5 separate regions of the Homo sapiens genome follow, and regions 1, 2, 4 and 5 are each linked to region 3. The links are contacts of gene promoters, found by promoter capture Hi-C in blood cells and fetal thymus (Javierre and others, 2016). All regions are on one chromosome and are shown on one strand. The core of a region is centred on a gene start or on the middle of the fragment in contact, and the rest is flanking DNA. Distances in the headings are between cores, read along the strand shown. Region 1 holds the start of UTP6 (UTP6 small subunit processome component). Region 2 holds the start of SUZ12 (SUZ12 polycomb repressive complex 2 subunit). Region 3 holds the start of RHOT1 (ras homolog family member T1). Region 4 overlaps SUZ12 (SUZ12 polycomb repressive complex 2 subunit). Region 5 overlaps C17orf75 (chromosome 17 open reading frame 75).

The links. Contacts are between HindIII fragments. The CHiCAGO score rates a contact against its expected background, and 5 or more counts as called.
Region 1: the fragment with the promoter of UTP6 here is called in contact with the fragment with the promoter of RHOT1 in region 3 in 1 of 17 cell types (naive CD4 T cells); the score reaches 5.1 in naive CD4 T cells.
Region 2: a contact is called between the fragment with the promoter of SUZ12 here and the fragment with the promoter of RHOT1 in region 3, in 1 of 17 cell types (activated CD4 T cells). The highest score is 5.5, in activated CD4 T cells.
Region 4: a fragment that was not itself captured here is called in contact with the fragment with the promoter of RHOT1 in region 3 in 15 of 17 cell types (endothelial precursors, megakaryocytes, erythroblasts and 12 more); the score reaches 16.8 in endothelial precursors.
Region 5: a fragment that was not itself captured here is called in contact with the fragment with the promoter of RHOT1 in region 3 in 1 of 17 cell types (erythroblasts); the score reaches 5.3 in erythroblasts.

What each region holds. Positions count from the first base shown.
Region 1 is chr17:31,900,451-31,903,150 of GRCh38, reverse strand. It overlaps UTP6 (UTP6 small subunit processome component), which reads left to right and starts at 1,443. Exons shown (of 19, transcript NM_018428.3): 1 at 1,443-1,615. The coding sequence starts at 1,524. RefSeq lists enhancers at 1,449-1,498, 1,184-1,775, 1,819-1,968. The HindIII fragment of the contact is 12,725 bases long and covers 1-2,700 here.
Region 2 is chr17:31,935,583-31,938,282 of GRCh38, reverse strand. It overlaps SUZ12 (SUZ12 polycomb repressive complex 2 subunit), which reads right to left and starts at 1,276. Exons shown (of 16, transcript NM_015355.4): 1 at 763-1,276. The coding sequence starts at 1,036. RefSeq lists an enhancer at 600-1,185 and a silencer at 926-1,385. The HindIII fragment of the contact is 8,448 bases long and covers 1-2,700 here.
Region 3 is chr17:32,141,058-32,143,757 of GRCh38, reverse strand. It overlaps RHOT1 (ras homolog family member T1), which reads right to left and starts at 1,256. Exons shown (of 20, transcript NM_001033566.3): 1 at 1,029-1,256. The coding sequence starts at 1,065. LOC105371730 (a long non-coding RNA gene) reads left to right here and starts at 623. Exons shown (of 2, transcript NR_136413.1): 1 at 623-733; 2 at 1,045-2,532. RefSeq lists silencers at 976-1,035, 1,066-1,295 and an enhancer at 1,756-1,925. The HindIII fragment of the contact is 3,152 bases long and covers 721-2,700 here.
Region 4 is chr17:31,998,201-32,000,900 of GRCh38, reverse strand. SUZ12 (SUZ12 polycomb repressive complex 2 subunit) reads right to left here. Exons shown (of 16, transcript NM_015355.4): 16 at 1-2,243. The coding sequence ends at 1,898. Among named protein-coding and RNA genes, the nearest start is that of LRRC37B, 7.8 kb to the left of the region's middle. The HindIII fragment of the contact is 1,377 bases long and covers 582-1,958 here.
Region 5 is chr17:32,333,735-32,336,434 of GRCh38, reverse strand. C17orf75 (chromosome 17 open reading frame 75) reads left to right here. Exons shown (of 10, transcript NM_022344.4): 6 at 993-1,112; 7 at 1,596-1,660; 8 at 1,830-1,966. Among named protein-coding and RNA genes, the nearest start is that of C17orf75, 7.1 kb to the left of the region's middle. The HindIII fragment of the contact is 598 bases long and covers 1,094-1,691 here.

The sequences.
Region 1 (2,700 bases), core at 194-2,693, 240 kb after region 3:
TTATTATATGGTAGGCACTGCTATAAGCTGTAGAGTATCTAGCCAGTCAAAAAGGAAAAAATTCCCTGCCCATATGGAGTTTACTATCTAGTGTCATCTCCACTCTTACTGTTAACACAGCCCCAGAGATTTTACTTTTACAAATAAATTCTATCTTTGTCTTACATTCGTGATTTCCTTCCACTTCTGACATGTCTTACAGCTGAAGGATTCAAGAAATGGTGTAGCACAAGCCAACCCTCGTCTCAGTTCTGAGATGAGTGGGTAAAATGTGAAAGGAAAGAAAGAAATGCAAGGCACAGAGGTGGAACATGGTTTTGCTGAGCCCATTCTCCTTTCATAAATCACACACAGGATCCAGGTGCTAATGTGAATGTTGAAATAAGCAGATTTAGCAAGAACTGCTGCTTTGGCTTTTTTATATCCAGAACTAAAAAAGAACTGAACCATGTAGTTATCATTTGAGGTTTACTAACTATACCAGCAATATTGCCTCCAAGCTGTGTTGCCTGGTGTTTCTCTTAGAAATGCTAAGTTGCTTGGGCAATGGTTTAAGGAGGGTGTCTATACCTTAGTGATTTATTTTGGTAATTCTCAAACTTTTCAATACAAAAATCTCCTTTTCTAAAAAGAATTTATAGTGTCTGATATTCACCTAGGGACATATATTTTGAAAGCTATTGCTTACAAAGACAGGATATTGATTTAAATAATAAACAATTCTATTTTATTTATTTATTTATTTAGAGACGGAGTTTCACTCTTGTTGCCCAAGCTGGAGTGCAATGGCGCGATCTCGGCCTCCCAGGTTCAAGCGATTCTCCTGCCTCAGCCTCCCGAGTAGCTGGGATTACAGGCGCGTGCCAGCACGCCCAGTTAATTTTTTTGCATTTTTAGTAGAAACGGGGTTTCATCATGTTAGCCAGGATGGTCTCGAACTCCTGACTTCAGGTGATCTGCCCGCCTCGGCCTCCTAAACTGCTGGGATTACAGGCATGAGCCACCGCGACCGGCTTTCAAAAATGTTTAATTGTACAATATCCTCCTCCTTTGCTTTTTTTTTTGTTGTTGTTCTTGGTGTTGGGAAGTCAGGACGTGGGATGGGAGACAATATTCTGAAGAAAATGCATCTCGTGTCCCTTTCAGGCTTGAGCAGCCCACCTCTCTACACCTGGAGGCGCTTTTCCTGATGGCTGTCCAAGTCTAGCGGCGCGCGCACTTAACCCCTCCCTCCCGTCTAGCCCCGCCCCTCAACTCCTGTCCGCTAGAGTCGTCCTGCCCAAGACCAGGGCGGGTTCTCGCTGCAATCCCACAATCGGCCACAGGGAGGGGACGGTGGCTGTAGAAGCCGAAGGGCCTTCCCCTAAGTAGGAGGTGGCGGAAGCGGAAAAGGCGGGACCTAGGGAGCACGTTACGTCCGGACGCGTCGGTGGTAGGGCTGGGTCTCCGAACCTGAAACCGGGAGCTTCCTGCTCGTGTTCGCTGTTGAGAAGCTACCCGCGGGGTTGTAGACCTCGGACCTCATGGCAGAGATAATTCAGGAACGCATAGAAGATCGGCTCCCGGAATTGGAACAGCTGGAGCGCATTGGACTGTTCAGTCATGCGGAGATTAAGTGAGAGAGGGTTGGGGAGAGGGAAGAGCTGAGGCGGCCTGAGGGGAGGTTGGGAGTGTGTGGCAGGGGCTAGATGTGGGGACGCTCGACCTGTGTTTACTTTTCCTAACGTGGTGGAAGCCCATTTCTCGTTTTCGGTGATGTCCAGAATTAATTTTTCATTCGTTGCAAGGTAATCCGTCCGTCTACTTACCCATCAGACGTTTTGACAGCCCTTCATGGAGCCGGGTCTTAGGGCTGTAAAGGTGATAAACCCAGGATTCCTGCTCATTAGGAGCTAATTGGGCAGAGTGTGGTGGGGGAGACAGACAAATTAAATATTTTGATAACAGTGTACTGTAAGTTGATTGTAGTACCTTGTACTGCTGTAGGGATGGGAACAGAGTGCTGTGAGAGCCCAGGGGGAGTGGATAAATTCCTAACTAGACTTGAAGGTGGGGACCATTGAAATCAGTTTCATATGCTACTCCAGAGCCTAACTACAGCGCCTGGCACATGGTAGACATTCAGTAGCGTGTTAAAATTATGTTTAATAGTTTTTAATGGTTTCTGTGACTGTTGCTTTGTTTTGCAACGTCTGAATGTAGTAATGTGACTCAGAGCTTCAAAGTAAGCATTCGTTAATGAAACACAAAACAAAGCAGTGTGGACGCTTAGAAAGTGCTCAGTTAAGGTTAATGTTACCATTACTAAAGACACCTGTCTTGCACATCTTGCATTAAATTCTCCTAATATATATTTGTCATATGTTCATTCCTTAGCTAAGGACTCTGAATCTTCTCCCGTAAGTCCTTCGTAGTAATAAGTCTTTTAAGGCAGACGCAATTTAGATTTTTAAAAAAATTTACATGTTGAGAACTCAGAAATAAGAGGAATTTCGGAAAGAAATTTATTATTAAAATTTAAGTGACCTGAACTTGGAGTAAAAGAAGTCTTTATTAATACCAGCCAGGCGCTGTGGCTCACGCCTGTAATCCCAGCACTTTGGGAGGCCGAGGTGGGTGGATCACGAGGTCAGGAGTTCGAGACCAGCCTGGCCAATATGGTGAAACCCCGTCTCTACTAAAAATACAAAAATTAGCTGA
Region 2 (2,700 bases), core at 27-2,526, 210 kb after region 3:
AATCAGGATTATTCATAGTCACGATGTTTTTAATAAATTCTATTGTTTGTTTCCAGACACCTTGCTCTCCTTTCCAAATAAGTCAGTTTCACCTTCCAGACAGAACTTAGAAACAGAAATTGACGCAAGAAAATGTTCTGTAAGCCAGGTAGAAAAAGCAGAATTCCGGGGTCGTCTCCAGAGAAGATGCTTGACCACTCTCTGGCTCAGTTTACATATCCACAAAATGGGTGGATAGATTTGAAGGGTTTTAAGCATCCAAAGGTGCCATAGGAACCTGCAGCACCAAGTTAGCGCGAAGGCATTTCAGACTAAGGACACTTTCTTCGGTTCCACTGCACTCATCCCTTCACAGGCTTCATTTTGCCCCTCAAAAGCTACAACCGAAACCCCTGTATTTCTAGAGTCCGAAAGGCATGAAAGAAAACAAGAACCAGTCTCGGGATGTGACTGCGGCTCAGTTCAACTGCTACCTCCTCATCTAAAAGCCGCCTGCTCTGAACGTGGGGCCCCAGTCCCGAGCCTCTTGCGTCAATCTTGGGGGAGTCAAGAACCCGCCCGGACCCTCTTTTCCAGCTCTCCCAAGGCCCTGGACTCCGGATCCCCTGGAGACGTAATCTCCGAAAGGGGGACATCCCCTCAATTCCTCCCTCCACTACCACACAAGTGGACTCCCGAGGAGGAAGGGGGCCCAGCAGAGTGTCCCATCCCCGGTGTTGGCAGAGTGGGTCTTCCTGCCCTCAAAGCCTCGCACACACTCACTCTCAAAGGCCTGGAGGAAAAGCTCGTGGTCAGCCTGGACGTGCTCCATTTTCGGCTTCTTCACCGGTAACACCGCAGCCCCCGCCGCTGCCGCCGCGGAGGAGGAGGAGGAGGCCGAGTAACTGCCACCCCCTCCACAGCTCCCGCCGCCGGATTTGCCGCCCGAAGCCGTCGCCGCCGCCACCGCCGCCGAACCCCCGAAGCCGCCTCCCCCGGACCCCGCGCTGGGCCCCGAGCCGCCCCCTCCCCCACCGCCGTGCTTCTGAGGCGCCATCGCGGTTCCTGCCTCCTCCCCCCGCCAGCTACCCGCCGGGCGGCCCCGGAGAGCAAGCGCCTGCAATACCAACCGCTCGCCCCAGCAGGCTCCGGCGGACCGAGGGGGGAAGGAGGAGAGAGGGGAGGAGAGGGGAAGGGAAGGGAGGAGGAGAGGAGGGAAGGAGGGAGGAAAAAAAAAGTGTCTCCTCAGAGCCCCGCTCCGCTTCGGAGGCCGCTCACCCTACCCTGGCCTCGCTCCGCCCACTTCCCCCGCCCGGCGCTCTGATTGGCCGGCGGGAGCGCGCACCGCCGGGCCGCCCAGCCCGTTGGCCCGCGGATTCCCCCGTCAGTCACGCGGAGGCGCTTCTCGCGGAGGCGCGGCTTGGTTGGCCCGTGCGCGCTGCCGATCGCGGGCCCGGCCGCCTCTTTGAACTGAATTCGCGGGAAAATTAGGGGTCGGAGCGGCCTTCCTGCTGGCCCCGGTGCATTGTGGGGAGAGAAGGACCCAGCGAGCGGTTTAGCGAGTCTAGATCCTTAGTTTGTTGCCCCCAAACACCGTAAGAGTGGTCAGAGAGGTAAACTGGTTGAGAAGTACTTACATACACTCTTCTCTTCTTTAGGATCTATACCTTTTCAGCTCAGAAAGCTGAGAAGGAATCCGGTGTTTTGCGAGTCTTGCTTTTTTTTTTTTTTGAGACGGAGCCTCCCTCTGTCGCCCAGGCTGGAGTGCCAGTGGCGCGACTTCGTCTCCCTACAACCTGCGCCTCCCGGGTTGAAGCGATTCTCCTGCCTCAGCCTCCAGAGTAGCTGGGATTACAGGCGCTCGCCACCACGCCTGGCTAATTTTTTGTGTTTTTAGTAGAGACAGGGTTTCACCATTTTGGCCAGGCTGGTCTCGATCTCCTGACCTCGTGATCCACCTGCCTCGGCTTCCCAAAGTGCTGGGATTACAGGCGTGAGCCACCGCGCCTGGCCAGGTCTTGCTTTGAACGATAGACACATAGGCCCATTTCAGTCTTCTGGCACAGATTGGTTTGGAGTTGAGCTAATGATTTGAATTTCAGGTTGGACAAGATGATCTCTAAGGATGTTCTTCCAATTTTTATATTACGTTAAAATTTCAAAAATCCCAACCTATAAACATAGAACCATTTCATACTCTAAACAGCATTTTTTAAATGTCTACTTGGGTTCTCTATAGTTAACTGCAAAACACTGTTTACAAAACAAGTGTCTCTGGAATGGTTATTCAAGTTGTTTACAAAACTAGTTATCTTTGTAATGATTAAATACCTAAAGTACAGGTTTTATCAAAGCCTTTGCTACTTAAGAAAGTGATCTCTGCAAATGACGTATATAGTATTTGGCATTTCAGGAACACATCTGAAATTAGGTATACCTTCTTACCTGAAATAAGGAATGCCTGTTGTTAAGGACAAGCTATATTTTATATTCAGACAAAAAGTTCAGAATCCCCTCTTGTTTGTTACACTATCCTCTGTAGTCTTTTTTTTTTTTGAGACGGATTCTCGCTCTGTCACCCAGGCTGGAGTGCAAGGGCGCGATCTTGGCTCACTGCAACCTTGGCCTCCCGAGAGAAATACCAGTAAGTTCTCTTGGTAACAAAGCCACAGGCACTGCTAACACTACTATGATTTGTCACCTATTAGTAGTTGAAGGAGA
Region 3 (2,700 bases), core at 7-2,506:
AAAACAAACAATCCAGTTATCCCTGGCCCACTTTCTTATTTTAGTCCTAGCAACTGAGTTACATAACTTGCAGAGTGAAATCAAGAAGTCCCCGCTGTTGCGTCCTCATGTCAGTGAACAGAGGGAACTCTCCTTTATTATATTTTCAAAAGGTGAAATGTATGAAATTTCTGGGTGGGGGGAGATATCAAATGTCTGTGTGCCTGTGGTTATTAATAAGTTAACTACGAAGTAACTATGGAATAAATAATGCTTAAAAAGAGGGCAAAGATTACGCTTTAGGGTAACAACAATTGGACCCTCCCCAGATAATTCTAATTCATTGAGCGCTTGCATAACTCGAAGTTGAGTAAAAATTTTTGATGAAATATCTCGAGTACGAGGAGTTAGTCCAATGCAAAGTACAAGTACTGCTAAAAAGGATCCGGCCCTTTCCACTACTCATATCTTAATGTCAATACATAGAGAGAGTGAAGACTGCGAGTGCCAAAAAAATGCAGAAACCTGACCTTGCCCACAAGTCGAATAGTTCTGCACCCCTCCCCCAGCTTCCCCGGGAGCCGGTTCACGCAATCCCTATTGGTCAGTCTGCTTATTCCAGCACCTGCCTGGCAGTGATAAGGGAATCTCCAGAAGACAAGAAGGTCTGAAAGGAGGCGGCCTGGGAAACTGTGAGGCCCAGAAGGACAGGGTTCGAAGAGGAAAAGGAGGAGAGAAGCTTCGGAGGGATGAGGTCGGGCGGTTAGGGCTAATAGGGACATGGCTTGGGAGGACGGCTGGGGAACAGGGAAAGGAGATCTCTGGAGGGCCCAGGTGAGGTGACAGGGTGAGGGCCGCCGGCGGCCAGCCAAAAGAGAAGAGTGAAGGGGCTGGAAGGCCTAGGAACGCGGAGAAAGGCGAGCGGAGCTGTGAGGCGCGAGAAGGGCCGGGGCTGCAAAGGTTGGGGCTGCAGGGGCGACAGGGGCGACAGGGGCTGCAGGGGCAGGGAGGGCAGGGACTCAGGGGCCGGCCAGAGGGTGCGGACTCACGTTCTCCCACCAGCAGGATCCGCACGTCTTTCTTCATGTCGGCGGCTCTCGGGGGCCGGCCTCCGCCCGCACGCACGGAGTGGACTCCTCTCACCAGGAGCACCCACCCCACGGCGCCACCTGCCAGCCTCTTCGGCCGCCGGGGCCCGCCGCGCCGCCCCCTCAGTTGCTTCCCCGCAAGAGAGCCGGGACAGCGCCAGCTCCGCCTCCTCCGGCCCAGCGGGCTGTGGCGGCGGCGGCGGCGGCGGCGGCGGCGGCGGCGGCGGCGGCGGCGGCGGGGACGACGGCACGCGGCGAGGGACACGCGCTTTCGGAACGCGAACGCGCTCTGCGCCGGAACAGCGCTCCCGCTGTCAGGCCGCCGCAGCGCAGGCCCAGGGAGCCTCGCCCACCCTCCTTTGGGCACCGCGACCCCGGAGACACTTGGGCCAGGAATTTGAATGGCGGATTCCCTGGTTTAACCCCGTTTATTTTATAGATAGGGACAGAAATTCCCTGTTCAAAGTCACATAGCTAGAGCTTGGCAGTGACTCAGAGCAGGGATCTTCTCACCAGACCATAAACTCCGGGAGGGCAGCGATCAGCTTGCATGGTTTTCAGCTGCGTCCCCACGTTATTGGATAGGGCCGTCAGAAAATGCTTGATCGAGTAGGGCGACTGGCTCCCAGGATCCGGCGCTTTCCACTCCCCAAAGCCCGTCACCCTAGTTGCTTTTGCCTCTGATGCTTATAAAATACGATTATAAGATTCGTTTTTACGCTGTGTGAACAAGACTCCTTTCTTTATAACCAAACTAAGTGACTTTTTTTCTGTCTATGTAGTTTATTTTATGGCAGGGTTTTCGGACACTCTTCTTTACTCAGGCTTACCCAGCGTAATGCTAGACACGGAGGTGGCACTCGATAATAAACTCTAGATGATTTTTCTAACATTGCCTTAATTTTCTCGTGACCCTCTCCATCTGGAGGAATTTGTTGTTACATGCTTAATGTTTGGTACACAATGGCAAATATATATATATACATACGCGTGCGAATATATATCACATCCCTAATACTTGGCACACAGTGGGAAATATAAAATACATAAATTAATGAGGAAGCACTATCTGTGCATAATGTACATTTTTTCTATCTTAAATATTACACAATAAACACTTAAAGGGAATGAAATGTGCGTAATACCAACTTCCCTTTCTCCTAGGAGAAGTCATGTGGTCTCTTGCAGCAGTTAAGAGTTGCTGGCAAATTTCCTGGGTTTGAATCTAGGCTCCACATAATAGCTCTGTGATCTCGACTAAGTGCTTTTATTTTTACTTCCCTCAGCCACTGTTCCTTCTTCTGTAGCATGGAAATAATGATGATAATACCTTCCTCTTGAGATGGTTGTGAGTAATAAATACTATAATACTTGTCAAGCATTTGGTACAGTGCCAGACTCAGAGCGTGTGCTCTACTGATCTCAGCTATCATTATTATATTAAAAAGTCACTAAAAAGTTGTAATCCACAGATTTTTTGTTTTGTTTTGGTTTTGTTTTGAGACGGAGTCTCGCTCTGTCGCCCAGGCTGGAGTGCAGTGGCGCAATCTCGGCTCACTGCAAGCTCCGCCTCCTGGGTTCACGCCATTCTCCTGCCTCAGCCTCCCGAGTAGCTGGGACTACAGGCGTCCGC
Region 4 (2,700 bases), core at 21-2,520, 140 kb after region 3:
TTCTTCAAAATCTGTTATCAAGGGTACATATAGAAAAGCACTTTTTTTATAAATAGAAACAAAGGGATTTTTTCAGCTTTTACGATGACATAAAAAGTTTACTCAACAGAAGTAATTTTATTACTATTTGGGGTGGGAATCACCAACTTTTTGTGCAAACAATGCTAGCCTTCTTTTAAGCATTAAGAGCATAACTGCTTAAGAAATGACATAAGCAATAATTCTACACCTACATCTCCCCTAAAATAATCTTTTTTTTTTTTTTTTTACATATGTGCACAGCTTTAGCAAATTAAAGCCCGAGATAAACGCTCGAGATCTACTATCCAGAGGCAAAAATCAGAGTTTACTAGAACTCATCATTTGGAGAGCTTACCAATCAAGGAATCTGTAATGAAAGCTGCAGTTTCCCTCTTTCCTATTTTTTTTTAAACACAAAAATCAATGACTAAGAACTTAATACTGGATGACAAATCACATCCACACTATTCGTTAAATAGCCTCACAGTTAAACACATCTTAAAGACCAGTCAAATCAGTATTTACATTTTATAAATTTCTGAAGACACCATTAGAAAGCTTATATATCCCTTCATTAAACAAAATAGGGAACTGCATCTGATGGTGGTGGAATGAAATTTTAAAATTAAAAATACCTGTATTTACAGCAGCATTGATCCTTTATAAATAAAGAATATGAAAATGCAATATCTTTAAGGATAATAAAAAATTGAGGTGATGTTACTCAACCACAGTGCTCGGAGTTGGAATAAAAACCTATTGGTGCTTGTTAATGTGCCAGTAGTGAATCCACTTTCTGTTGGAGAAAATCCAACTGCAAATATGTGCGTGAAACACATATAACACAGGGCAAAATTGCTCAAAATGATTCAAGTCAGCTTATCTCTATTGGATATTCTATTCATGAAACACATTACAAAGACATCCTTGCAAACAAATAAAAGGCATAACAGTTTTCTGGTTGACTTTTTAAGAACACTTCTCCCCTTATAAGTGACATCTTAAAATCTCAAATGCGTTCTTTCCTTGGTTTGCAATCCTAATTTAAAGATATGAACAGCTTAATTTTCCGTGTGATTATCTAATTAAAAAAGAAAAACAAAACAAGCAAAATGTTCAAGTTAAAAAAAAAAAACATACCGGGTGAGCAATGCACTAAAATTATCCACATGAAAACAAATGGTCTGTAATCTTATAAACCAACATAGCATTTCACTGTCAACAATGTGAAAATTTAATATCTTCTCAAACAGGCATAAGATGAAGAAGTGCTATTTTTTAATTGTAAAAGGAACTTATGTAATGTAAAATTACATTATAATTTTTCATTCCGAATTGACAAATGATTTCAAAAACAAGGATCAAAGTTTGACTGCAAATAGTAATGCAATATAATTTCATAAAAATCCTTCAATTTCTATTTTTTTCCTTTTCTGTAGTTGACATATGAAGACCACTTCAATTTCTAAAAAAGGGAACCATTCCAATTTTCCCTCCCCAAGAAAATGTCTCACAATTACAAAGTAGAAAAACAGCCGTTCATAAATGCAAAAAAATTCTGATTTATATATGAAATAATTTCTAGATCAATTCAACATATTTGATGACATTTGTTGAGTTTAAAAATACTTTGAAATATTGCTTTTCATGCTTAAAGTACAGAATGTTTTAATGACATCAATAAAAGTGATATACATGTAATGCTGCATAATGAAGTGAAGTAGAACCCTGATACAAATATCCTTGTTGAAATCATTTACTTCATCTAACAGTGCCTGTTTGGAACATATGATTAAAAACAAAAACATAATTCTTAGAGGATGAATTCCCTAAAATGTAATTTCAGTGTTTGTCCATAACATGGGGTTAGAGCTTTTCAGAGTTTTTGTTTTTTGCTCTGTTTTGAAACCCCTGAGACACTATCTGTTTCCAAAGCTTTCTCTTTTGAGTTAATTTCACTAAATCCATTTGCTGTCCCATTTTGTTCTTCAGTTATTTCTTCGTTTGCAGGGGAAGCAGATTCCCCCTTTTCTAATTTTTGCTGCATTTCACGGAGCTTGGTAACAGCTTTATCTATTGACATTATGCTAATAAGATTAAAGTCATGCATGCTGACTAGATGAAGCATGAAGTTTCGACATAAATTCTTCTTAATTATTTTCTGTCCATAATTTTCTACAAACAGCATACAGGCATGATTCATTTGATTGTCAGCAATAAACCTATTTAATAAAAACAGAATATGAATAGCAATACAAAGCATTTTTGTCAAATGCAACAGTGATAACCATTATAATAAGACTATATCCAATTCCAGTAAAATAAAAGATGATTAAAGAAGCAGTAAAACTATAGAGAAACTGAAATTCAATCATCTGAATGAGCTTACCATTTTAAAAATTTCAAGAGATTTAATCTAACTTAAGCTTAAACAGGTACCATTAGAACAGCAGATATAATTTCTGTTCTTCAATTACATAAGCAGTCTTAAAAGCATAAAATATTTGGGCCAGGTAATTACGCCTGTAATTCTAGCACTTTGGGAGGCCGAGGTGGGTGGATCGCAAGATCAGGAGATCAAGACCATCCTGGCTAACACTGTGAAACCCCGTCTCTACTAAAAATGCAAAAAATCAGCTGGGTGTGGTGGCGGGTGCCTGTGGTCCCAGCGGCTCCGGA
Region 5 (2,700 bases), core at 143-2,642, 190 kb before region 3:
CAAGGCCAGCCTGGGCAACAAAGTGAAACCCCATCTCTACAACAAATACAAAAATTAGCCAGGCATGGTGGCACGCACCTGTAGTCCCAGCTACTTGGGAGGCTGAGGTGGGAGGATCGCTTGAGCCTGGGAAGTTGAGGCTGCAGTGAGCTATGATTGCACCACTGCACTCCAGCCTGGATGACAGAGTGAGACCCTGTCTCAAAAAAGCAAACAAAAACAATGCTTTCAGCTTGTAGCAGTTGTTAGTCATGACTCTCACAAATTTACTACCCATTACATATATAGTAGAAGTTATACTTTTCACATACTTAGAAGATACTGCAGGAGAGAGGAAGGGATAGTGCAGGAGTGAGCAACTGATGCAAGTCTAATAGAGTTGTTCTCCCGGACTAGAGCTCTTCGTGTGTGACACTAGTCTTCAGGGAGCAGTATAGCCTAGAAAGCCAGATGTGCTCACGGTAGCATGTCTGACATCTGGAGTGGAGTGGAGTGCTTTGATGAGTTACTTGTATCCTTCCCCATTCACATTCTGAATACGAATGAATTCTCTATCTACATGACTAATTCAAAAGGCACTTAATAAGCTCATACTATGCATGTTTTAGACACTGTACCACAGGTGCCAGGGAAATGAGGATTATTGAGTGAGTATCTCCATTGAGTGCACAGTACAGTGGGAGGAGAGGGACTTGTGAGTGCCCAACTCTTCCCTGTGAAGAAATAGCATGGAACCCTATTCAGTCTCTTCATTTTATAGAATGCATTTCTTGGTGTGTTTTAAATAAATTCAGTACAGATTTAACCCTCACCCTGCCCAACAAGCCAGGAAAGGTATATCACAATTTCTTTTTTTGAATTGGTGGTGTTAGCTTTAAAAAGGGAGGTGTCTATCCTGGTCTTTTTCACCATCAAGGATATGATGAAGAAAATATGAAGTCCACTAAAGGAAAGGCTTATATTAAAGCAAATGATGTTCTTTCTTGATTTAGGCAAGGGGCCTGGAGAGTCACATAAAATCCTATCTGAGCAGCTGGTTTGAGGATGTTGTATGCCCAATCCAAAGGGTTGTTCTTCTCTTTCAGGAAAAGCTTACCTTTCTGCTACATGCTGTAAGTACTGCCAAATGAGAGCATTTCCTTAACTGAGAATCACTTTGGATGATTTAGAAACATACTCATTTTCTCTGAACATGACTCCCATCCCTCCCCAAATATTCAAACTATGCTTGCTATCAAGATAGACCACACTTTATTTTCTCAGATCTAGAAAGTGATATTACTAAGGTAGAGTTGAATTTCAAATGCTGAGTCTTCCTAATAGGATAAAACATTTTAAAATAATTACTTTTCCAAGTGATCTGGGAAAGGTATAGTTTCCAAAACAATTTGAAAAGGAAAACAAAAATCCAGAGCAATTTTGATTCTATAAAATGTTAATGAGCAGTGGCTGAACAAGGCTCTGGAGAGCTTGTGACCAGTGCCCATCAATTGTTGTCCAGTGTGGTAGGGACTTATGGGGACATTTAGTCATGAGTAGCTGCTCAAGAAAAACTGGAATATATGTACCAATCAGGCTTTATTTTTCTCTCATAGGCTTTGAGTTACACTCCTGTTGAAGTTAAAGAATCAGATGAAAAAACAAAGAGAGACATTAACAGGTAAAGAACAGTTTTTTCAAAGAGAAAAGCTTTTCCACAGCAAGATTGACATCTGTGTTTGTAAACTGCTCCTTCCATCCCTTCCCCACCAGCCCAGTGCAAAATAAATTTGTTTTCATCCTTCCGTCCTGCAATATTGTTTGTGGAAATGGACTTGTGTGTGTGGCAGGTTTCTGAGTGTGGCCAGTCTTCAAGGACTTATTCATGAAGGCACCATGACTTCTTTGTGCATGGCCATGACAGAGGAGCAGCATAAGTCTGTGGTCATCGATTGCAGCAGCTCCCAGCCTCAGTTCTGCAATGCAGGTGAGCTACAACCTCTGAAGCAGCCTTCCTACATCTCTTGCGAGTCCCCATCTTTGCACTGAGAGCCTATGATACAACCTTATTCTTCCTGCCTTGTGCAGTTTTACATGGTTATCTCAAACCATGAGAAACCACTTGGTGAAAACAATATAATTCTAGAAACATGGAAATCATGCCATGCCTAGCAATTCCACACCTAGGTACATAAAGAAATTCTAGTATGTGTACACAAGGAGATGAATTTTAAAATGTCCATAAAGGCATTACTTGAAAAAGCAAGGAATTGGAAGCAATTTAAGTGTTTATCAACAAGAAAACTGATAAGCTGCTATATTCATGCAATGGAATATAACAGAGCAGTGAAAAAGAATGAACTAGAGCTACTTGTGTCAATATAGCTCTCAAACATACTATTTAGTGAAATAGCCATAAAAGAAAAAATACATAAAAGTTTTAACATATGCAGAATAATGTAGATAAGGCTTACACGTGCAAAGGTATATGGGAAAAGTTTAAAGACGTCTGTGGGAATGATTATCCTCTCTGATGGGAAAGGAAGGGGGATGTGATTGGGAAGGGGCATACAGGGGGCTTCAGCCATTTTGGTATTCCTTAGCCATGTGGTGAGCACACTGTTTTTTTAGGCCATTATACATGTCTTAAATAATTCATTATAGGTGTTTTTATAAAGAAATAAATGGGTCAGGCGCAGTGGCTCACACATGTAATCCCAG